Regions from separate parts of the Homo sapiens genome. Here all the other regions are linked to region 1. Evidence: promoter capture Hi-C in 16 types of primary human blood cells and fetal thymus (Javierre and others, 2016). All regions are on one chromosome and are shown on one strand. Each heading gives the region's core, a stretch centred on a gene start or on the middle of the fragment in contact. The rest is flanking DNA. Distances are from core to core; before and after follow the strand shown.

The links. The method cuts DNA at HindIII sites, captures the fragments that hold promoters and counts their contacts. A CHiCAGO score of 5 or more calls a contact.
Region 2: a fragment that was not itself captured here is called in contact with the fragment with the promoter of UNC5A in region 1 in 1 of 17 cell types (endothelial precursors); the score reaches 6.3 in endothelial precursors.
Region 3: a contact is called between a fragment that was not itself captured here and the fragment with the promoter of UNC5A in region 1, in 1 of 17 cell types (endothelial precursors). The highest score is 5.4, in endothelial precursors.
Region 4: a fragment that was not itself captured here is called in contact with the fragment with the promoter of UNC5A in region 1 in 1 of 17 cell types (endothelial precursors); the score reaches 6.7 in endothelial precursors.

What each region holds. Positions count from the first base shown.
Region 1 is chr5:176,809,276-176,811,840 of GRCh38, forward strand. UNC5A (unc-5 netrin receptor A) reads left to right here and starts at 1,284. Exons shown (of 15, transcript NM_133369.3): 1 at 1,284-1,545. The coding sequence starts at 1,476. The HindIII fragment of the contact is 10,823 bases long and covers 1-2,565 here.
Region 2 is chr5:176,920,266-176,922,830 of GRCh38, forward strand. The region is part of intron 10 of UIMC1 (ubiquitin interaction motif containing 1); the gene reads right to left. Among named protein-coding and RNA genes, the nearest start is that of HK3, 22 kb to the left of the region's middle. The HindIII fragment of the contact is 1,330 bases long and covers 605-1,934 here.
Region 3 is chr5:176,713,539-176,716,103 of GRCh38, forward strand. No RefSeq gene overlaps it. Among named protein-coding and RNA genes, the nearest start is that of LINC01574, 28 kb to the right of the region's middle. The HindIII fragment of the contact is 3,923 bases long and covers 1-2,565 here.
Region 4 is chr5:176,902,153-176,904,717 of GRCh38, forward strand. No RefSeq gene overlaps it. Among named protein-coding and RNA genes, the nearest start is that of HK3, 4.1 kb to the left of the region's middle. The HindIII fragment of the contact is 505 bases long and covers 1,037-1,541 here.

The sequences.
Region 1 (2,565 bases), core at 34-2,533:
ACCCTTCTCTATCAAAAGTGGGAAACAAAAGACAGACCGAGAGAGGGCCTCGTGTCTCAAGAAATATAGGAGAGCTCATATCTCTTTGTGGAAGCAAGACCATCCCTTACATCGCCTAGCCTGCAGCGCCAATTTATATTATCGACCGGCCCCGTAGGCGTTTGAGTTTGCGACCCTGCCCTCACCCTGCTCATTCCCCTCCCGACCCAGACTAGGACCCTCTCTTTTTCCGATCACTCCCCCCAGGCACACCGCACGCGGCTGTCATTTCCTTTCTCCTTCAAGGCAGCCCTCTGTTTATTTTAACCCGATTAGGGAATGGGGGTGGGGCACAGGAGACTCCAGCAGCGGTCACTGCTGGAGGCTCCAGGAGACGACGTGACTTGACCAAGGTCACAGAGCTGGAAGGTGAAGTCGCCTGGACCCTACCCCCGGTCTCCCTAGCTGCCAAAGCCCAGCTCGTTCCTTTACACCCACGTCGCGGGCGCCGTGCGCTCTCGGGGCTCAAACACCGCGCGCCCAGTCGGGTGTGCTGCGCCTGAAGGTTGTTTTCCTTCGGCGAACGGCGCCGAGGGGTTAGGGAAACCTTGGGTCATGGTGTGAGGCGCGCCCCTGGAATCCACCAGCCTGCGAGGCTGGGACTGCGGGTGTCCCCGAGTCTGGCCTGCCAGCTCTGGTGGCCAGGGCACCTCTGCGCGCGGGCCAGGGCCCCGGGGCTCTCCCGCAGTCCCCTAACCAAGCCGCGGGCTGGCAGCGTACCGCGGCGCCCGGACGACCCCGGAGCGCGGCCGCGAGGAAAGGGCGGGGGAGAGGACTGCAGCGGAACCTGCCCGGGGCACCCCTGCCCTGGGCGGCTCTCCGCAGGCTGGCGCCGCGCCGGGGTCGCCGCAGCCCCGGGCCCCTCCCGGGCCACCTGTGCGCAGACTGGCGGGCCCGCGAGAGCCCGGATCCGGAGCACCGATCCACTCCGGGTTTCAGACTCCTGCCCCTGTCCCTGGAGACCCCGCGGGGCGGTGGGAGGCCTCCACGCCCACCACCCCAAGCCCCTCCCTGGGGGAGCCTCAGGCATCGCCCAGAGGGATTCCCGGTGCTGGGGGTGGCCCGCGCGCGCTGCGCGGGGCGGCCCGGCCCCTCCTTCCTTCCCCCGCCCCTCCCAGCCGCCGCCCCGCTCCGTCGCTCCAGTCCGGGTTTTGCGGCGCCCACCGGCCCGCTCTCCGGCTGCGGGCTCCGCGGCGCGGCTGGCTCGGTGCGCGGCGCGGCTGGCGCTGCGCTCCGCCCCGGCTGCATTGCTGCGCTCCCGTGCCCAAGGGAGCCACGCGCCGCGTGCGCCCGGCAGCCGGCCGCCCGGAGGCAGCGCAGTCCGCTGGCATGGGCCCCGGGGGCGCCCCGAGCTGGGGCTCCGGGCTGAGGCGCTAAAGCCGCCCTCCCGCCCGCGGGGCCCCGCGCCCGGCCCGCCCGCCTGCCCGCCCGCGGCCATGGCCGTCCGGCCCGGCCTGTGGCCAGCGCTCCTGGGCATAGTCCTCGCCGCTTGGCTCCGCGGCTCGGGTGAGTCACGCCGCGCGCGCTCTGGGGAGGCTTGCGGGGGACCGTGCGCGCGAACGCTCGCTGCTCTGGGGGTCCCTGACCAGCGCTGCCAGACCCGGCTGGGAGCCCCCCGAGGCCAAACTTTGCGAGGCGGGACGCGGGGGGCTCTTCTTGCTGCTGCGCAGCTTCCCCGCGCGCTCTCCCGGAAGCCTGGGTTCTGCCAAGTCCAGGAGCAGCTGTCAGCCCGCGGGGCTGGCGAGTGTAGACACCCCACGCCTCCGGGTGGGGGAAGTTTGCTGGTTGCCTGGGCCCGGAGCAGGGCTGGGGGTTTGGATCAACCCCAGGGAGCCTGACTTTGAGGATTCGAAGATTAGAGGGTTTTGAGCCTATCCCAGTGCCCAGGAAATGGGGGGTGCGGGGAACGTTTAAGATACCTCTTCCCGGTAGCATCTGCCCTAAACAGCCACTCACAATCTCCCAGCTTGGCACCTGGCCTCTGCCCACGTCCAGAACACAGTGTCCTCCTCTGTCCCCGCCACACACGCTCTCACACGCACACACTCAGGCGTGGAGGCGCATACACCAGCCCCCAGTCCTTGCAGCCAGCACAGTCAAAGCGCCGCGGTCCCGGTGGCCGGGGCTGTGGCTCCTGGCCTCCCTGGTGCGGGGGGCCAGAGTTGTGTGTGGTTGGTCCGCCAGTTTCCCCTTCTTCCTTAAACTCCATAGCCTTTCTTGGCCCCTGCATGCCCCATTGGTCACCCTAACCCACTGCTAACTCAGCCCTCAGCCCACCTCATTCCCTTGGGAGGGGCTTGGGGGGAGGAAGTTCCCCTGCATCCTTTGTCTGCTGTCCCTGAGCCTTCACCTAGGCTGAGCTGTGGGGGCCTCCTGATCTCTGCCCCCCATGCACTTAGCTGAGTTGAGCGTATGTGTCTGTGGTGGTGGGGGGTGGGTGCCATTTGTGTGGTCAAGGGGGCTTGAGGCTTACCCTGGCAATTCTCGATTCTTGCTGCCCCTAGAACCTGGGCGGTTACTCCCCAG
Region 2 (2,565 bases), core at 20-2,519, 110 kb after region 1:
GATCCGCCCACCTCAGCCTCCCAAAGTGCTGGGATTACAGGCGTGAGCCACCATGCCCAGCCTAGCTGGGATTTTGAAAAGGATTTGAAATCTGTAGATCAACTTGGTGAATACTGCCATCTTCACAACATTAAGTATTCTAAACCATGAACAGGAAATACCATTCCATTTATTTAGGTCTTATTTAATTTCTTTCAACAATGTTTTATAATTCTCAGAGAAGTTTTTTATTTCTTTTGTCAAACATATTCCTAAGTATTTTATTATTTTTGATAGTATATTAAATGTAACTGTTTTCTTAAATCCACTTTCAGATTGTTCACTGCTAGTGTACAAAAATACAGTTCATTTTCTATATTGACCTTGTATCCTGCAAACTTGCTAAACTCGTTTATTAGTTCTAAAGGCTTGTTTTATTTCAGTGGATTCTCTAGGATTTTCTATATAAAAGATGTCATCTGATAGAGTAGTTTACTTCTTCGTTTCCAACCTGAATGGCTTTTATTTCATCTCTTTCCTAACTGTCCTGGCTAGAACCTCCTTTACCACGTTGAATGGAAGTGGCAAGAATGAACATCCTTGTCTTGTTTCTGATTTTGGGGAAAGCTTTCAGTCTTTCACCATTAAGTATGATATTAGCTGTGAGTTTTTCATAGACGCCCTCTATCAGGCTGAGGAAGTTCCTGTCTATTCCTAGTTTGCTGAGTATTTTATTGTCATGAAGGAGTATTGAATTCTCTCAAATGCTTTTTCTGTGTCCATTTAGATATCGTGTGGTTTTTGTCCTTTGTTCTATGATACAGTATATTAACTGATTTTCTAATGTTAAACCAACCTTTCAGACTTTTTTGATGAGAAAAAAGTAGTACTTGAGAGAACTTCTACACTCTTCCACCACCAAAAGTATTAGTCTATCTGCATCTGTACCCATATCCTCTGCCTTCCCTCCTATTGCACAGAATGAATTGCCCACACGGCTATCTAAGGCTCACTTTTCCATTTGATCCTGAATCTGAACGCTTCTTGCTTAATTAAGGATTCCCCTCCTGCCATCATCTCTCCTGAAACATCAATTTTTCCCTCTTTTTTTAGATCATTCCATCAGCATACAAATATGCAGTAATATTTCCCATAAGGTTATTTCTAGACTTGTATATCCTGCTGTCTGCTCAACATCTTCATTTGGTTATTCACTGGGCATCTTAAAATTATGTACAAAACCAAATTCTTAATTTCTTCCTCCAAACCTGTTCCTGCCCCAGTGTTCCCGCTCTCAAACAACGAAGTCATCATTAACCCAGTTGCTTGGGGCAAAACCTTGATTTCACCTTAGTCTTTCTTGTTCTCTCACACTCCAATAAATCCTGTAGGTTCAACCTTCAAAACATTCCCAAATCTGACAACTTCTTTACCTCACAGCTACCTCTATGGTCAAAGCAAACATCAGATCTTCCCTGGAATAATGCAACAGCCACTCCCCTCCACCCCTGCTTAGTCTCCTCAATTCCATTTTTGCCCCATCCCTCTATAGATTATTTTCCACATTGTAGCCAGAGTTAGATTACATCATTCCCTCGTTCTCAACCCCCCTATGGCTTTTCATCATATTTGGAATGAAGTACAAAAACCTCACCTCACATGATCTGACCACTGTTTATTTCTTCTCTCCTTTCCCCCTGTCGCTCAATCTAATTCAGTCATTGTGTCTTTCCTGCAGCTCTAAGAAACATGCCAAACACACTCTTGCTTTAGGGCCTTTGTATTTATTCCCTGACCTAGAATGACTCTATTCAAATATCACCTCAAGAAGTCTCCCTTGATCTTTCTCTTTAATCGAGCCCCCTTTTTCCTCTGTTCTAGTCACTCTCCATCCCCTCTTCTTGCCTTGTTTTTCTTAAATTGTATTTATTATCTGTTTCCCTCACAAAAAGGTAAGCTTTATAAGAACACTGACTTGTGTTTAGTACTGTACCCTCAGCTTGCAGAACAGTATCTGCGTTATAGTTGCTGCTAAATAAATACCAACTGGGTTGTCAGTAAGGAAGTACAAGCAATAGTTAAACAACACAGTGATCTTCTGAATTACTCAGAGGGGCTTTCTAAGTTGAGTACCCTACAATTGGCTTAGCCAGAAACCTGAGTTAAGATTGCCTTCTCTCATCTTGACCAGTCACAAGGTTTGCTTCTCTCACCAAAAGATTCTCAAGTCCGTCCACTTCTACTAACACTGCTTTATCATCTGTCTCTCTGCTTTTAGTCTCCTCCAAATTATGGTTAATATTTCAGAATACTGTATTTTCTTTCAGTCTTTATTTTGAATCCTTATATAATACTTCGTCTTGTTTTTGAACATTGGGTTAAGTTGTTCATTGTTATAAATAATGCTTTGATAAACCATCTTTGTCTATACAATTTCATCTAAATTCTGATGACGTTTTTAGAGTAGATTTTCAAACTTTAATTCATGGGTCAGAAGATATGAATTACTTTTAAGTTCTACGTATATATTATCAAATTGCTTAAACAAAAATTTCAGCTGTTAAAGATTAAGCTATAAATATTATA
Region 3 (2,565 bases), core at 32-2,531, 96 kb before region 1:
TACAGCCTGCATGTGGGTGGAGGAACTGGCAGGTGAAGCCAACACCCCCAAACTACCAATGATTCCAAGGGTCTGATGTAAGAACTCAGCCGCCCCTGGAGACGACTCAGTAGTCAGGGTGAGCTGAAAGTGGCAGCTTCCCCTCCAGAGCATACCTCTTCTCACACACAAGCCTGGGAGGTTGGCCGTCTAGGGCTCATGGACCACTGTGTGCATCAGAGACCCAGGCTCCTTCTGTTTATCTGTTGCCCCTTCCTAGCATGTGGCCTCTATCCTAAGGTCTCCTCATGGCCCAGAAAGACTGCTGGGCTTCCAGTCATGATGTCAGGCTGGAAGGGGAAAAATGGAGGAGCAAAGAGGGTCTAGCTCCTCCTTCTCAAGGAGTCTGCCCAGAAGTCCCACACACATTTGCTTACGTCTCGTTGGCCAGAATTCAGTGCACTGACCACACCTAGCTGCAAGAGAGGCTGGAAAATGTAGGGGGTTTTTTTTGTTCTATTTTCTTTTTGTTTTCTTTAAGCTGAGCCCCTTGCTCAGGACTATAGTGAGACAGAAGGGAGAAAGGGGTGTTGGAAGGCAATTAGGCACCTTGGTCCCAGGACATTAGTGGTGACAACAGGTAAATGAGATCAAGGCCTGCCCCTGCTTAAAACTCTCCTGTCCTCTTCACCACAGCCCCACAGCCCTAGTTGATCCAGGCCCTGCCCCACCCCTTCCTGACTCATCTCCTCCTTCCTCTCATTCAACATGTGTTGAGCTCATCCCCCACCCCCCCAGGGCCTTTGCAGTTGCTGCTCCCCCTGCCTATAACACGTTGCCCCAGGATCCTCGTACAACTCACTCATCTCATCATTAGGCCCCGGCTCACATGCCCCTCCCTAGGGGGCCTGCCCCACGCTCCCTACCATAGTCACTCTCAGCCCCATTCACCTGTTTTCCAGAGCACCCAGAACACTCCGGAATTTGCTCCTGCGTCCCGTGTTTATGCTCTACACAAGGGGGAGACTGTCACTTTTGCCCAAAGCTCAGTGGCACAGCCAGAGAGGCTGCCCACATGCAGGTGCAGATGGAGGAGAATCCTTCATTTGTGTTTCCTCCTGCACCATAGTCTGCGGGGGGCCGGTGTGAGAAGCCTCTTGCCAGAGGCCTAGGTTCAGCACAGCCATTCACATTTTTGGTGGGCTTTTTTTTTTTTAATTGAGACAGTCTCACACTCTGTCACCCAGGCTGAAGTGCAGTCGCGTGATCTCGGCTCACTGCAACCTCTGCTGCCCAGGTTCAAGTGATTTTCCTTCCTCAGCCTCCCAAGTAGCTGGGATTACAGGCATGTGCCACCACGCCTGGCTAATTTTTGTATTTTTAGTAGAGACGGGGTTCCACCCCATTGGCCAGGCTGGTCTCAAACTCCTGACCTCAAGTGATCCGCCTGCCTTGGCCTCCCAAAGTGCTGGGATTACAGGTGTGAGCCACCGTGCCCAGCTTAGCCATTGGTGTTCGGAAAGCGCAGTACTTTGTTCCTCCTCACTCAGCCTCACTGTGGGCCTTGGCGGTAGAAGGGTGGTTCCTCCGACTTTCACCATGCCTGTCTGTCCACTTCAGAGGGACAGGGGATTACACACAGGGAGCCCTGCACTGGGGCTTGGTTGCAGATGTTCACACTGCCTCCAGTCTATGCCCGGGACTCAGTAGATACCCTGGATGGCTTGTCACCATCACCCAGACTCCCTCTGCCCTCTCCCCGTGGTTGGGCTCCCTGTGTCTATGGTCATCGCTTTCTTGCTTTGTTCCCTTGTGGACCACAGGCTCAAGTAGCTTCTTAAGAAAGAGGGGAAGAGGTCTGCAGAAGTATTTTTCTCTCTTCTCATTTGAGAAGTAGTTTATCTGGGTATAGAATTGAGTTTGGAGATAATTTTCCTTCAGAATTTTTAAAGCATTACTTCTTGTCTTCTAGTTTTTCTGGAAACTTGAAGTTCTGCAGCAATGTACTTTGGTGTGGGTGTTTTCAACCACTGTGGTGAGCAACTGAATCCTTTTAATCCCAAAACTGGTGTCCCTCATTTCTGAGAAATGTTGTTGAGTTATTTCGGGTATGAGTCCTTTCCCTCTGTTTTCTCTTTCTTGACTCCTGTTATTCATATGTGCAATCTCTTGAATTGATCTTTCAATGTTCTTAACTTTTACCTCCTATTTTGCTTTTCTTTGTCTTCTTGCTCTGTTTTCTAGGAGGTTTCCTCCCTTTTGCCCTCTAAGCCATCCTTTCGTTCTTCTTTTTTAAAAATCATTCATTTGTGCTTTTCATTTCCAAGAACTCTCCTTCAACTCTCTGTTCTCTGACTGTTCATTTTGTTAGCTCTTCGTGGATGTAACATCTCTTATCTCTCTGAGGTTTTTAATACACTTTGTAAAGATTTTCTTCGGAGATAACCTTGCATGGTCCCTTTCTTTACACTGTTATTTTTACTCTTTGTTTTTGTTTGTTTGTTTGTTTGTTTGTTTATTTTGAGATGGAGTCTCGCTCTGTTGCCCACACTGGAGTGCAGTGGCGCAATCTCAGCTCACTGCAGC
Region 4 (2,565 bases), core at 39-2,538, 93 kb after region 1:
CTTGTATAAAACTTGGAGACTGATGTCTTCATAGGATTTGCTTTAGGTTAGGTAAACCCAGAGGCAGACCTAATTTGAATGCAAATAACTTTATTTGGGAAGTGATCCAGGACAGGGCCAGAATCAGGGCAATGCAAATGATATGCCTAGGGTACAGAATGTAAAGAGACCCTCTCAGGTTCATACGGGTGCCAACCTTGCACTTAGATGAACCCAAGAATAAAGGCTCATCACCCTAGTCCCAGTCCTGATCAGGAAAATACAGAAGAGGAGCTGGAAGCCAGGTAGGAAGAGAAAGAAGCCAAGGAAGTGTACGTTAATTGTTACTGGGAGCTTAGAGAGGTTCACTCCCACAGGGAACCCTGAGAAATAGGTAGAATGTGCCTTAGAGTTGTCCCTCACTGAGTGAGGAAGCTGGGGTATCTATCCTCCCACTTCCACTGGCTGAGAGCTGTCCCAGGGGCACTAACTCCCTGGTACTCTCAGCTTGTGCCAACACAAACCAAGAGAAGTCCTCAGGCAGAGTCTCAGGTACTTGCAACAGGACTCTGTGGGTATACAGCAGAATGGCGAATGCCTGGGGGAAATGGGCGAGGCACAACCTCTGCTGGGGCTGCTGTAAGGACTAAATGAAAAAGCACAACTACAGCGCCTAACAAAGAGAAGTCCCCCTCTATCTCTTCCAATTTACGGCAATAGCTTGTGAAGTTTATGGAGCTTCCCAGCTCTCCGTGAGTTGGCAGCATCAGCAGAACAGCTATTTCTCATCTTTCAGAAGTAAAAGAAATCCAGGGGCCCTAGGAGAACTCTAGATGCCTGGGACCCAAGTTTCCTGTGGAAGCCTGATGGTTGATGGAGCCCGAGTAGTCCCTCCTGAGTACACATTCCTCTGAAAACTATCTCCTCTTGCATCTGCACCCGTCCCCCATCCCTCCACCCCTCAGTGCAACATCATTTGTGACACATAGACTAGCATCACATTAATAACTGCTGCCACTAACTCATTCTTCTATGTGATGACATTGTGCTGGATCAAAGCTTTATCCACATTATGGTAATCCTTAGAACCCTGTTAGTATGATCTTTTCCCATTTTATGGACAAGAAAGCCAGGTCTCAGAGAGGTTAACTTTTATCAGAAGCAGGGTGCAGATGTAGGCTGATCTCACACATTTTATACTTTGTCTCTTCACTCTTTCACTAATGCTCCTCTCACAGGATCACAGCATGGGGAGAATAAGACTGTGGGCAAACAAGACGGTTGTGAGGAGGCGATGGGGGAAGTGGGTAGCTGTTCTTCCCTTGACTCCCCATTAGCTAATAATTAAGCCTGTGGTTCCTGGTCTGGCTGATCCATACCCTCCTGCTGCTGACTCATGTTTTAGGGAAACTGCTCAATTTTAAGCTAAATAATTCACTTTCCAGAAGTACCCTTTCCCTTTTCTTATCTTCAGGCAAACAGATACACACACTGTCCCCTGTTTATACAGCGCTACCTCCAATAAATTGCCATTTAATGAAAGAGAAAACAAGCGAGAGTTAAGCTTATGGGACATAACTGATAAACTACTTTTCACTAGAAGAAAAACAGGAAAATAATCAATACTGGAGTCAAAATATAGCATTTTCTTCAGGAATGAAGAGTAGGGGCACTGTGGTTCCACTGCCATGGACAAAAAGTGGCTTATTTGTTACTCTAAGCCTTTGCTTCCTCATCTGGAAATTGAGATGATAATACCTATACCCCATAGGGTTGCTATGAGGATTAAATGAAGGCCACATACATTGCCTGGACCGTAGTAGTTGCTCAAAAAATAACAGCTATTTCTTATGTGCTGCTAGCCACTAGGTCAGTGCCATCCAACAGCAAGACATTATCTATGGAAGGAAAAGACAGTGAGACTGCCATCTTGCCTTCTTCTAACTCAAAAGGTTGTGTGCAAAGGGACCTAGGCAGGAACAAGGCCTTAATGTTTGTGCTGTCTTCCATCCCAGCTATCTGCTAACTCCCCAGTCTAACACATACCTCGTTTTCATGTTAAAAGAAAAGATAACTTTGGACAAAATCAGAAGTTAGGAGAGTCTTGAGTGTGCCTGTTTATCCTGTCCCAAGATCCTTTCCTGGTCAACAGCCACCTCCCCCAGTTTTTCATTACAACTTCAAATCAGTTTTGGCCAAAACTAGCATTCTTCACATCCTTGTTTGGTCATCTCCTTCAGGTAGCTCCTTCTGCCAATTGACATCCTCTCATCTTCAGAGTCTGCACATGGCATGCACCGAGAACAGACCACATCTCTGTTCTGCACTGGAAGCTCCTAGGCAACACGGTGAGGAATGTGCGCTATGTTAGTAATGTTACCAAAACAGAAGCCATGTCCTGTTGCTGCTAACCTTTGGCATCAAGAGACCCAATCTTGATTTGAACAGATGAATATGCCTGGCATCCCCACTGGTTAATCTATTTAGAAAAAATAATTGCATAGGCATCTAATAACAGAGTGTTCACTTGCACATTCCTGGGAAGAATGGCAGGACACATCCTTCAAATGTTCTATGCTCAGGCTG